Regions from separate parts of the Homo sapiens genome. Here regions 1, 2 and 4 are each linked to region 3. Evidence: promoter capture Hi-C in 16 types of primary human blood cells and fetal thymus (Javierre and others, 2016). All regions are on one chromosome and are shown on one strand. Each heading gives the region's core, a stretch centred on a gene start or on the middle of the fragment in contact. The rest is flanking DNA. Distances are from core to core; before and after follow the strand shown. Region 1 overlaps TMEM209 (transmembrane protein 209). Region 2 has its middle 18 kb from the start of LINC03008. Region 3 holds the start of KLF14 (KLF transcription factor 14). Region 4 overlaps SSMEM1 (serine rich single-pass membrane protein 1).

What was found. The method cuts DNA at HindIII sites, captures the fragments that hold promoters and counts their contacts. A CHiCAGO score of 5 or more calls a contact.
Region 1: a contact is called between a fragment that was not itself captured here and the fragment with the promoter of KLF14 in region 3, in 9 of 17 cell types (megakaryocytes, erythroblasts, total CD8 T cells and 6 more). The highest score is 9.8, in megakaryocytes.
Region 2: a fragment that was not itself captured here is called in contact with the fragment with the promoter of KLF14 in region 3 in 2 of 17 cell types (megakaryocytes and erythroblasts); the score reaches 6.7 in megakaryocytes.
Region 4: a contact is called between a fragment that was not itself captured here and the fragment with the promoter of KLF14 in region 3, in 15 of 17 cell types (megakaryocytes, endothelial precursors, M1 macrophages and 12 more). The highest score is 17.3, in megakaryocytes.

The regions. Positions count from the first base shown.
Region 1 is chr7:130,176,471-130,179,300 of GRCh38, forward strand. It overlaps TMEM209 (transmembrane protein 209), which reads right to left. Exons shown (of 15, transcript NM_032842.4): 10 at 1,932-2,057. Among named protein-coding and RNA genes, the nearest start is that of TMEM209, 28 kb to the right of the region's middle. The HindIII fragment of the contact is 2,699 bases long and covers 1-2,664 here.
Region 2 is chr7:130,158,596-130,161,350 of GRCh38, forward strand. No RefSeq gene overlaps it. Among named protein-coding and RNA genes, the nearest start is that of LINC03008, 18 kb to the left of the region's middle. The HindIII fragment of the contact is 9,270 bases long and covers 1-2,755 here.
Region 3 is chr7:130,732,902-130,735,601 of GRCh38, forward strand. KLF14 (KLF transcription factor 14) reads right to left here and starts at 1,306. Exons shown (of 1, transcript NM_138693.4): 1 at 1-1,306. The coding sequence starts at 1,132. The coding sequence ends at 161. LOC105375508 (a long non-coding RNA gene) reads left to right here and starts at 1,363. Exons shown (of 4, transcript XR_927978.3): 1 at 1,363-1,481. RefSeq lists an enhancer at 377-914 and silencers at 810-969, 1,040-1,119. The HindIII fragment of the contact is 4,510 bases long and covers 1-2,358 here.
Region 4 is chr7:130,208,687-130,211,543 of GRCh38, forward strand. The region is part of intron 1 of SSMEM1 (serine rich single-pass membrane protein 1); the gene reads left to right. Among named protein-coding and RNA genes, the nearest start is that of SSMEM1, 2.3 kb to the left of the region's middle. The HindIII fragment of the contact is 3,567 bases long and covers 1-2,857 here.

The DNA.
Region 1 (2,830 bases), core at 65-2,564, 560 kb before region 3:
ACTTTGTATATATGTGTACATACACAGACACTTTCTCTTTTTGGATGTACAAATACCCTGCTAACTACAAGGCAATCTTGCCAAAAAACTCAAACATGAATTTATGGGAAAGAGAAGGGGTTATGTAAAACTACACCATAGGGATGCATTCAGCAAAACCCACACTATGGGAACCACTAAAGACAAACAATCCAGTTCTTCTGACAAATAAATTGCAAAGGAAAAAAAAAGGTGAATGGGAAGCATATAGCTTAAAATAAACTGAAATAACCAATTGCAATGTATTACAATATTTGAATCCCAATTCAAACAAACATTGCCAAAAAATTATGCATTTTTATGAGATAGCTGGAAATTTGAACACAGACTTAATATCTCATAACACAGGAAATATTAGGGCCAGGTAGCATGGTGGCTCACTCCTATAATCCCAGCACTTTGGGAGGCTGAGGAGGGAGGATTGCCATAGCCAGGAGTTCAAGACTGCAAGGAGCTATACACTCCTGCACTAGTGCCATTACTGCACTCCAGCCTGGGTGACAGAGCGAGCCGGGTCTCAAAAAAAAAAAAAAAAAAAATTATATTAAGAATGATAATTGTGGCCAGGTGCAGTGACCCACGCCTGTAATCCCAGCACTTTAGGAGGCCAAGGTGGGTGGATCACGAGGTCAGGAATTTGAGACCAGCCTGACCAACATGGTGAAACCCCATCTCTACTAAAAACACAAAAATTAGCTGGGCATGGTGGTGTGTGCCTGTAATCCCAGCTACTCAGGAGGCTGAGGCAGAAGAATCGCTTGAACCCGGGAGGTGGAGGTTGCAGTGAGCCAAGATTGCGCCACTGCACTCTAGCCTGGCGACAGAGAGAGACTGTCTCCAAAAAAAAAAAAAAAAGAATGATAATTGTATTCTGGTTATGTATGTTTGTATTAGTTTTCTAAAGGCTCAGCTGGGCACGGTGGCTCATGTCTATAATCACGGCACTTGGGGAGGCTGAGGTGGGAGGACTGCTTGAGCCTAGGAGTTGGAGACCAGCCTAGGCAACATAGCAAGACCCTTTCTCAAAAGCAGGGGGTCGCGGGAGGCTTATCTTTTAGTGATATACAAAGAAATATTTACAGATGAACTGATAATGACATGAGGGCTTGCTTCAAACAATACAGGAAGAAAGTGGACGGGGTATGGATAGGGCAGGGTCTGGCCAGGGACTAGTGATTGTTGAGGCTGGGTGATGTGTACAAGAGGAGTGTGTATACTATTTTTTCTAGTTTTGTGTATGTTTAAAATTCTCCTTATATAAAATGTTTTAAAAAGTCATGAAAAATGTTTATTCCTGAATCCTGCTCTAACCTTAGGGGAAAGGGAGAACACTATAATATTTTCAAATTAAGATTTATGATCAATTTGAATACTATTTCTAAAACTTGTCTTAGTGATGAGAATCTTTTAAAAAGTTTATCCAAATTTTAAAAAATTCTAACGTTATGAATTGCTCTGTAAGTAGAGAGGCACAGAGGGTGTATGGGGGTGTCAGGGAGCCTACATTTCCTGATTCTCAAGTCAGTCTCCTCAGGAGAGCACATCTTCCACCAAATAATAAGAATATCACAGAAATATAAGGAAGAAACTTATTAAATAGGAATTATAAAAATTAAGAGAAATAAGGCTCAGCACACCGGAACTATAAAGAATGTCATAATGGCACCCATTCTTATGAGTCTAAAAGTAGGAAATGAGTGAAATAGTCACTGGAGCCCATTTAGCTCATATTTAAGTTTCCTACACAAAATAAAGTTATTAAGCTATAATTAATACGTATTTATAAGACATGTTATACTTTTAATTAAAAGTTTTTCCTTGTTAATCTTCACTGATAAAATTCCAGCATAGTAAAAAAGCTCTTATTTTTTTCTCTTCAAATCAATAATTACCTTTGATCCTTTCAAACAAGTATTCCTGATTTGGAGTAAGGTCTAGATACTGAACGATTGTGTTCAAAGTCGGAATGAGAGGCGCTTTAACCAGGGCAGCTTGTTTCAAGCTAGTAATACTAGCCTCTGTTAACATAAAACACAGAGAACACTGATTATTCTAAAAGTGAGTTTCCAAAAGAACTTAAAATGCTCTTCTCATGTGTTCATACAGCTGGTTCCTCACTACCTTCAGGTCTTCATACAAGTCAATGACGTCTCCCCTGACGACCCTACCTCAAATTTCACCCCTCCTCTCTAAACATTAATAACATTACCCTCCTGTGCTTTTTTCCTCCTTAGCACTAACCACTGTCCAATGTACTTTTTTTCTTCTTCTCTTTTTGTTTTTTGAGACAGTGTCTTGCTCTGTCACCCACGCTGGAGTATAGCGGCACAATCACCACTCACTGCAGCCTCAATCGAATGGGCTCAAGCAATCCTCCTCCCACCTCAGCCTCCTAAGCAGCTGGGACTACAGGCACATGCCACCACACCTGGTTCACTTTTTTTCTTTTTTTCTATTTAGTAGAGACAAGGTCTCACTATATTGCCTAGGCTGGTCTCAAACTCCTGGGTTCAAGCAATCCACCAACGCTGGACTCCCCAAGTGTTGAGATCACAGGTGTTAGCCATCGTGCCTGGCCCAAAGTACTTTATCTTTTTTATTGTCTATCTCATTTACTAGAATGAAAGCTTAATGAAGGCAGGGACTTTGGCCATTTTGCTCACTGCTGTATCCCCCAGTGCCCAGAATAGTATTAACACCTGGAACAGACTAGGCACTCAATGTCGAAGGAATAAATGAAAGAAAGCATTTTAATTTGCACGATCTACATTACCTAGAACCATTCCCAGCA
Region 2 (2,755 bases), core at 169-2,668, 570 kb before region 3:
TCTTTTTAGTAGAGACGGGATTTCACCTTGTTGGCTGGCCAGGCTGGTTTCAAACTCCTAACTTCAGGCCTCCCAAAGTGCTGGGATTATAGGTGTTTGCCACCACTGCACCTGGCCCAAATGTCACCTTTTTAATGAAGTCTCTCCTGTCAGCTTCCCACCGAGCAGTACTTTCTCTCCCTTTGACCTATACAATTTAATTTGCACCACAATATTTTTTCTGGAGTTTTTCAATTACAAAAGCAATATAACATTGAAAAATACTTCAAAAAAAAAGAAAAGAGAAGAAAACGTAAGGACAATCATGCATATTCCCACTTCAACAAGTGAGTTCACATTTGGATATTCTCTTCTAGTCCTTGGTGATATGCATGCATATTTTTACATAATTGTAATCACAGTAGACATACAACTTTGATTTGTTTTCACTTCTATCCAACATTTCCCCATCTTTCCAAATAGTCTTTTCAGAGCTGCAGAGAGTTTTAAAAAGAGGTCAAAATAAAAATCCTTAAGTGATAACATCTCAAGATCGTATCTCCTAGAGTTTACATATAATTTATTATTATTTTTTGAGACGGAGTTTCACTCTTGTTGTCCAGGCTGGAGTGTAATGGTGCGATCTTGGCTCACTGCAACCTCTGCCTCCTGGGTTCAAGCGATTCTCCTGCCTCAGCTTCCCGAGTAGCTGGGATTAGAGGCGTGCACTACCACACTCGGCTAATTTTTGTATTTTTAGTAGAGATGGGGTTTCACCATATTAGCCAGGCTGGTCTCGAACTCCTGACCTCAGGTGATCCACCCGCCTTGGCCTCCCAAAGTGCTGGGATTACAGGTGTGAGCCACCCTGCCTGGTCTACATAGAATTTATTAAACCATCTTATTACTGGACATTTGGATGGGTTTTATTTTTAGCTATCATAGACTGGAAGCTATTTGAAAGAAAGAAGGATAGATCTTACGTTTTCTTTGTATTCCTAGCATCTGGCAAAATACTTCAATCAGTATTTATTGGATTGACTGGGTGTGGTGGCAGGCGCCTGTAATCCCAGCTATTCCGGAGGCTGAGACACGAGAATCACTTGAACCGAGGAGGCAGAAGTTGTAGTGAGCAGAAATTGTGCCACTGCACTCCAGTCTGGGCAACAGAGCGAGACTCTGTCTCAAAAAAAAAAAATTATTGGATGTATGGGTAAATAAATGAATAAGCACTCACGACGGACACCTTTAGGCATAACTATTTTTTTCTGTTGAATATTTTCCTAAGGTAAATTTTCCTGAGGTCAATGAGACAAAGAGCATTAATTTTTTTTGGCACTGTACATTATGGCAGATTGTATTTTCCAAAAATGGTCACACCAATAAATGTTCCATCTGACGTGCTGTAATGTGGCACATTCCTCCATTGAGTGGTAGGGGTCTGTGTTCCTTCCCCTTGACACTGAGCAGTTCTTTGTAGCTGCCTTGACCAACAGAATGCAGTGAAGAAACATGGTACTTCCAAAGCTAAGTTATAAATAAAAGGCAATATGCTTCTGCCTCTCTCTCTCTCACTTTCTCATGACACTGGCCCTAGGAACTCAGCCACCATGTTATGAGGAAGCCCAGGCCCTGTGTGGAGGCCAAGCGTGGGTGTTCTGCCAGTATCTCCAGTTAGGCTCCTAGTCAGTAGCTAGCATCAACTGCCAGACATGTAAACCTGCAGACATTGTGGAGCTGACAGACAGGAGCTGTCCCCACTGAGTCCTGTCTGAATTTCTGGTCCAGGGAGAGAGGTACTAAATGGTTATTGTGGTTTTGGGGTGCTTTGTTTAAAGAATTCACGCAGACCATTCAACTGGAAGCAGAGTGTCATACGGAATTTAATTTTGAGATGGAAGCCACGTAACACCTTCTCAAACCGCCAGGTTTGCGGCCTGGCAGCTTAGGTTCAGATTTCCGTCTGCCAAGTCTTTCCCGAGTCAGGGGACTCCTCAGGCTGTACCGTGGATGACACTCCTCCCCACTAGGAACACAAGGGGCCTTTCTTCGGAGGTGGAGCTCATTAAGCTGGTGCCTGTATTCTGGGCCAAAACTATCACAGAGCTGCCTGATTCCAGTCTCCACACCATGTGTTTGAGAAAGAATCATGCCTGGCTGCTGCTCCTGAGAAAACAAGTTTTGCCCCCAGTGGAGCTGATCACCACCTTCTAACTTTCCTCCTATGGGATGCAGTGCATGAAAGCAGAGTCTGATTCGGGATTGTTATTTTTTCCTTCAAGTTTAGAAATGGGAAAGGAAGGAGACTGTGTTTTCTTGGTACACCAGAAAGCCCAGCCTTCAGGCTACAAGGGTGCTACTGTCTATGACGGGGCAATGAATGGCCAGGTCTCGGGAAGGGAAGGACAGAGGGAGCAGGAGGCAGACAAAGCTGGGCTAGCACAGTTGGGGTGGGTGGGTGTCAAGGCCTTGAAGATCTGTAGCTCAGTGTGATCCAAGGACGAGACAGTTGCTTTACAGTGCCAAAGGGGCCACTTCCTACTTTTATATGAATTTGCTCTTTTTTCCTTCACCTAAAAGCAGTCCATTCATTATTTTCACTTTGAGCTTCTCAATTACCTCTAGGTATGAAGAGTATCTTATCACTTATTATTTTTTTTAGAGACAGGGTCTCACTATGTTGCCCAGGCTGGTCTCCAACACCTGAGCTCAAGTGATCCTCCTGCCTCAGCCTCCCAAAGTGCTGGGATTACAGGCGTGAACCACCACATCCAGC
Region 3 (2,700 bases), core at 56-2,555:
TCCCCAGAGTCCACATGTCTGCCTGGACCCACCCTCAGAGCAGAGGAACCAGTCTGTGCCTTGGTGTAATGACTCTGGGAAAGAAGGATGGGCAGAGAGAAAGCAGGGACAACGGCCTGGGGGATCATCCTTGAGGGTAAGACTGACAGCAATGACTGTCCTACAGGCAGGTGGTGAAGCTGGGCGCCGGGCCGGGACCGGAGCCGGAGGCGGAGCTTTCCACCTCGCTGGTGAGTGGCGGGTCGATGCGGGGAGTTCGACGACGTCCCCGGTACTCGATCATATCTGGATGATAGGTTGGGTGGCGGCGAGCATGCTTGGTCAGGTGGTCGCTCCGGGAGAACTGCTTGGGGCAGAGGGGGCAGGAGAAGCGCTTCTCGCCCGTGTGCGTCCTGTAGTGGCGGGCCAGCTCGTCGGAACGCGTAAACTTCTTGTCGCAGTCGAGCCAGTCGCAGGAGAAAGGGCGCTCACCCGTGTGGGTGCGCTGGTGGGACTTGAGGTGCGACGACTTGTAATAGGCTTTGGTGCAGCCCGGGAAGGGGCATTGGTGGCGCTTGGCAGCAGGTGTGACAGACCTCCTCCGGGGCGCCTGATCCGCGGCGGGGGCGGGGCCTGCCCCTAGGGCCCCTCCAGAGAACCCACCAGAGGCTGCTGGTGCGCCCGGGGCAGCAGGCGCGCTTGGGACGGCGGGCGCATCGGAGGAGCTCTCGGGAGCGCAGACCGCCGCGGCGCCGGAGGCGGGAGCCAGCTCGGAGCACGGGGTCTGGACGGAGCACGGGATCGGGTCGGAGAAGCCGGACGAGGCGCGTGGAGCTTCCCCCGAGTTCTCCCAGGAGCCCTCGCCAGAGCTGCCGCGCAAGTCCGCCCAGACGCTTGCAGCCAGCAGGTGGGGCGCGGCGCCGCCCGCGCCGGGGCTGGGGGCGGGGACCTGCGGGAGCTGGGGGACCGACGCGGGCCCCGGTGGCCCCGGACCCGGCAGAGCGGACTCCGGCGGCGCCGCACCCACCTCCGAGCCAGCGGCTCCACCCGCGCCCTCGGGGTCCGGCGGGCGGCGGTGAACCACGGCGCCCGCGGACATGGACACCAGGCACTCGGCGGCGAAGTAGTCCAGGCACGCCACGGCGGCCGACATGCTGGGACCGCCCGGCCGCCGGCGAGCGCCGTCCGAACGCGGCCGGCCGCGGGCGACGGAGTTCCCGGGAGCGTCCGTCCCGCAGCCTCGGAGCGAGAAGCAGGAGGCCGGGTGCTCGCCGCCTGCCGCCTGCTGCCGCCGCCGCCGCCGCAGCCGCCGCTGCCGCCGCCGCCCGCGCGGAGCCCGCCCCGCCTGACGCGCCCCTGACGCACCGGAGCCCGCGGGGGCGGCAGAGACCCGCCCCGGCCCGCAGGACACCCCCTCGGAACGCGCGGCCCCCGGCTAAGTCATGTTTAACAGCCTCAGAAATTATCTTGTCTCCGCGTTCTTTCTTCTGCCGGCGAGCCAGGTAATGGTAACAGAGCGAAACTCCCCAGTCGGAACTTCTGGGTTGCAGCAGCCTCGCCCCCCCTCCCCGCAGCCCGCCGCCCGCTGGTCCGTCGCCAGCTGGGTGTCCCGCGGAGTCCCAGAAAGTTTTTTTTTTTTTTAAGGAAAAAAATTGCTAATACCTGACATGTCTTTCGGTTCATAATTGCGATTGTTAGCGAAGTGGTCTCGAATTCCATTTCACTCCCCGTTCGCCGCTCTCAGACTAAATTGCAAATATCCCCAAGTCTGTAGCAAAAAAAGTTTTCTCATTGAGCAGGTCAACTGTGAACCCGGGGCCGGGAGCAGTTCCCTAAATAGATCCGCTACGTAGCCATTAATTAATAGCATCTCGAACCAGAAACAGTTTTAACCTTGGAAAAGCAAAGAATCCTCTCCCGGTTGAAATTGAAACTTAAAATCCTTTGAGTAACGATTTAACTATTCAGCCAACGAAAGAAAAATGCATGTTTAAACTGCATTAACCTGTCACTGGCATCCAAACAAATTTAAACGCTGAGATATAAATTATAGTCTAGCGGCGAGATAAACACATTAAAATGGACTCCCACCATTTTAATAATAGAAAGTCACGTTTCCAATTAGGCATTATCTTGTAATTTGCTTTTGACGAAAGTTAAATGTAAGGAAATGCAGCACATGATATAGAATGCTCATATGGTGTTTTGTGATTGTGGAGGTTTGCCTTTTTTATAATCAAATGCATGTACGGTTTCTTTTACGTGTCTTCATTGCTCTCATTTTTTCCCTCGTTTTTCTTTTTAAAAATGTAAAACTACATAGAAAAACAAACAGGATAATTTCTAAAAATAGTCATATCTTAGTTTTTGATGTATACAAGCTTTTATATGAGTGAATTGTGTGCATTTTATTTGTAGTTCTTCAGTACTTTTTCTTTTGAAAATTAATACGTATGTATCAAGAATAACATACGTTCATGTATTTACTGCCTAGGGTAATCAAATGTGAAATTTTTGTTATAGTTGTTTCATGTTTTTATTTATATTAAACATTACAGATAGAGTTGAATGTCACTTTGTTTCCCTCCCCAGTTCCATTCACCTTTCTCCCTCTTCACTTTTCTAGGTAATTAGTATTATAAAGTGGCTATTTAATCTGCATTTGTTTTGATACCCGTATTACCTAATTATACATGTAAATATATGTATATCTCCATGCTT
Region 4 (2,857 bases), core at 288-2,787, 520 kb before region 3:
GGATACATGCTGTAGGATTTTGGGGTTTTTAGAATGAAGCAATACGCTTTCTGCACAGAATAAGCAGAACTAGACTAAACAGAACTAAAGTCACCACTAAAATGCCATCGTCTTAAGAATGAGATATCCCACTTTATCAGGACTGTGATGCTTCCAACATATTATGAGTAACCAAGCTCTTTTTTTTTTTTCTTGAGATGGAGTCTTGCTCTGTCACCCAGGCTGGAGTGAAGTGGTGCAATCTTGGCTCACTACAACCTCCGCCTCCCGGATTCAAGTGACTCTCCTGCCTCAGCCTCCCTTGTAGCTGGGACCACAGGCGCAAGCCACCACGCTCTGCTAACTTCTGTATTTTTAGTACAGATGGGGTTTCACCATGTTGGCCAGGCTGGTCTCAAACTCCTGACCTCAAGTAGTCTGCCCGCTTTGGCCTCCCAAAGTGCTGGGATTACAGGCATGAGCCACCGCGCCCAGCCGTAACCAAGCTCTTATAATTTGCTGACATGATATCCTTGCTGGCCATTAATACCAGGCTGATGATTAAGAAAACCACCATCATTTAGCATTATAGCCATAGGCCTGGGCTGGCAGTGGTAAGACTTAATGCTCTATGAGCTCGGATGGGGTGGAGAAGGTTTGTTATGTCCATGCCAGCTGGATTCCATTCTAATCAAAGACTCTTTGATAACCACCACCTCCTGGTGAAGAACTTTCATCTAAAGTCTAAATGCTTCTTAAGGTAAATACTTTGCCAAAAGGAGATTTAGAATAATGATAGCTTATATGTGTCTTAGACTCCCTAGCTAAGTATATTGAATTTGGCCTGGCAAGCAAAGCTACTTTAGAAAATTACCAAAAAAATTTCATCATGAATTAAGAGGTCTAAGCTATTTTTTTTATTTTTATTTTTTGAGACGGAGTCTCGCCCTGTTGCCCAGGCTGGAGTGCAATGGCACGATCTTGGCTCACTGCAACCTCAGCCTCCTGGGTTCCAGTGATTCTCCTGCCTCAGCCTCCTGAGTAGCTGGGATTATAGGCGTGCATCTCCACGCGCAGCTAATTTTTGTATTTTTAGTAGAGATGGAGTTTCACCATGTTGGCCAGGCTGGTGTCGAACTCCTGACCTCGTGATCCACCCGCCTCGGCCTCCCAAAGTGCTGGCATTACAGGCGTGAGCCACCACGCCTGGCCCAGTCTAAGCTATTTTTTCTGCTCCCTTGCTTGCATCAGCTCTTGGGAGTCATACAGCCTTGAGCTTCCAGGACCTCAAGAGAGCATGTGGTCCAGCCTTCTGTTTGTAGGCAAGTAAGTTATCATTATCCCTCCCCCACTCATTTTTTTATTGATAAGCCCCAAGTAAATTAAGTGACTTGTCCAATGTCACAAAAGTGTTAGTGACAGAAGGGGAATATACCCAGATTTCCTGTCAAATTATTTGTTTGCTTCAAAGCATAGTTTGAAATGTCCACTTAGATCTACTCAGTCCTGATTAAAACCTTAATTATTTTAGAGGTTTCGTTTTTCACTTTGTACCCTTGTGGCAGCTACAATCAGCTAGACTGCTTCTTCTGAAGGGTCCCAGATTTGAAATCTGAGAACAATATGAGAGCTAGTAAAGGAGGATGGAATTTTTCCTTCACTTTGAACTTCTTCATTTTCTCTGCTAAACTATGAGGCTTTATTTACAAACCTTGAAGTAATGGTAAAAGCACGATGGAAATGTGGTGGTAATTATCCTCCAACATGAAGCACGCTGATTTCCTCTGAATTTGCCACTTTTTAAAGTGGCATTTACCCTTTTGCTTTCAGACTATAAATACTATATTTAGTTTATATTTTTATTTTGTGTTTATTCAGATTGCTAGTGCTGGTATTTTTCTGGACAATGGTAATCCAAACACCTTATTTTGCTTATGTGGAAACTGAGCTTAAGAGGTGTTAAGTGGCTTGGAAAAATCAAGAGTTGTTAGTGGCAGAAAGAGAGCCACGGCCCACATTTTCTACTCTGCCCCTCAGGGCAGGCACTCCTGCTGTTTTCACTCACTGAGTCACAAAGACAGTTAATAAAATGCTTTTCGTAACCACAGTTCATATGATCCCACTTAGTTTAATGCAAAATCTTTCTTTTGATTTTGTGGCTATGTTTTGATTTGACATCAAATGTGAGAGCTTTCTGTGGAAATGATATAAGCCTAATAAGTGTTTTTAAATACCTTCTCCTGTCTATTACAAAAGTACACATTATATAGAAAATGTGGAAATTATAGGGCAGAAGACAAAATAAAATAAAAATCACTCCAGATTATGTAGAAATAACCAACTACTGTTAACTTTTAGGTTTATAAACTTCCAATTATTTTGATTTTCTTTACATATATTAAATTTATTTTTTTCCTTTTCTATAACCTAAGTGATACATATTAAATTTAAAATATTTAAGCCTCTTCCAAAAGCATTTTTTATAAAGTGGTATCTTTTTTTTTTTTTTTTTGAGACAGAGTCTCGCTGTCACCCAAGCTGGAGTGCAGTGGTGCAATCTCTGCTCACTGCAAGCTCCGCCTCTCAGGTTCACACCATTCTCCTGCCTCAGCCTCCTGAGTAGCTGGGACTACAGGCACCCACCACCACACCCGGCTAATTTTTTTTGTATTTTAAGTAGAGACAGGGTTTCACCGTGTTAGCCAGGATGGTCTCGATCTCCTGACCTTGTGATCTGCCCGCCTCAGCCTCCCAAAGTGCTGGGATTACAGGCATGAGCCACCGTGTCTGGCCAGAAAGTGGTATCTTAAAAGTGAACTCCGCTTTCAAGATTTTTGGAGAATGATTGCTGTAACCCAGAAAACAAAAAGGCACCTCA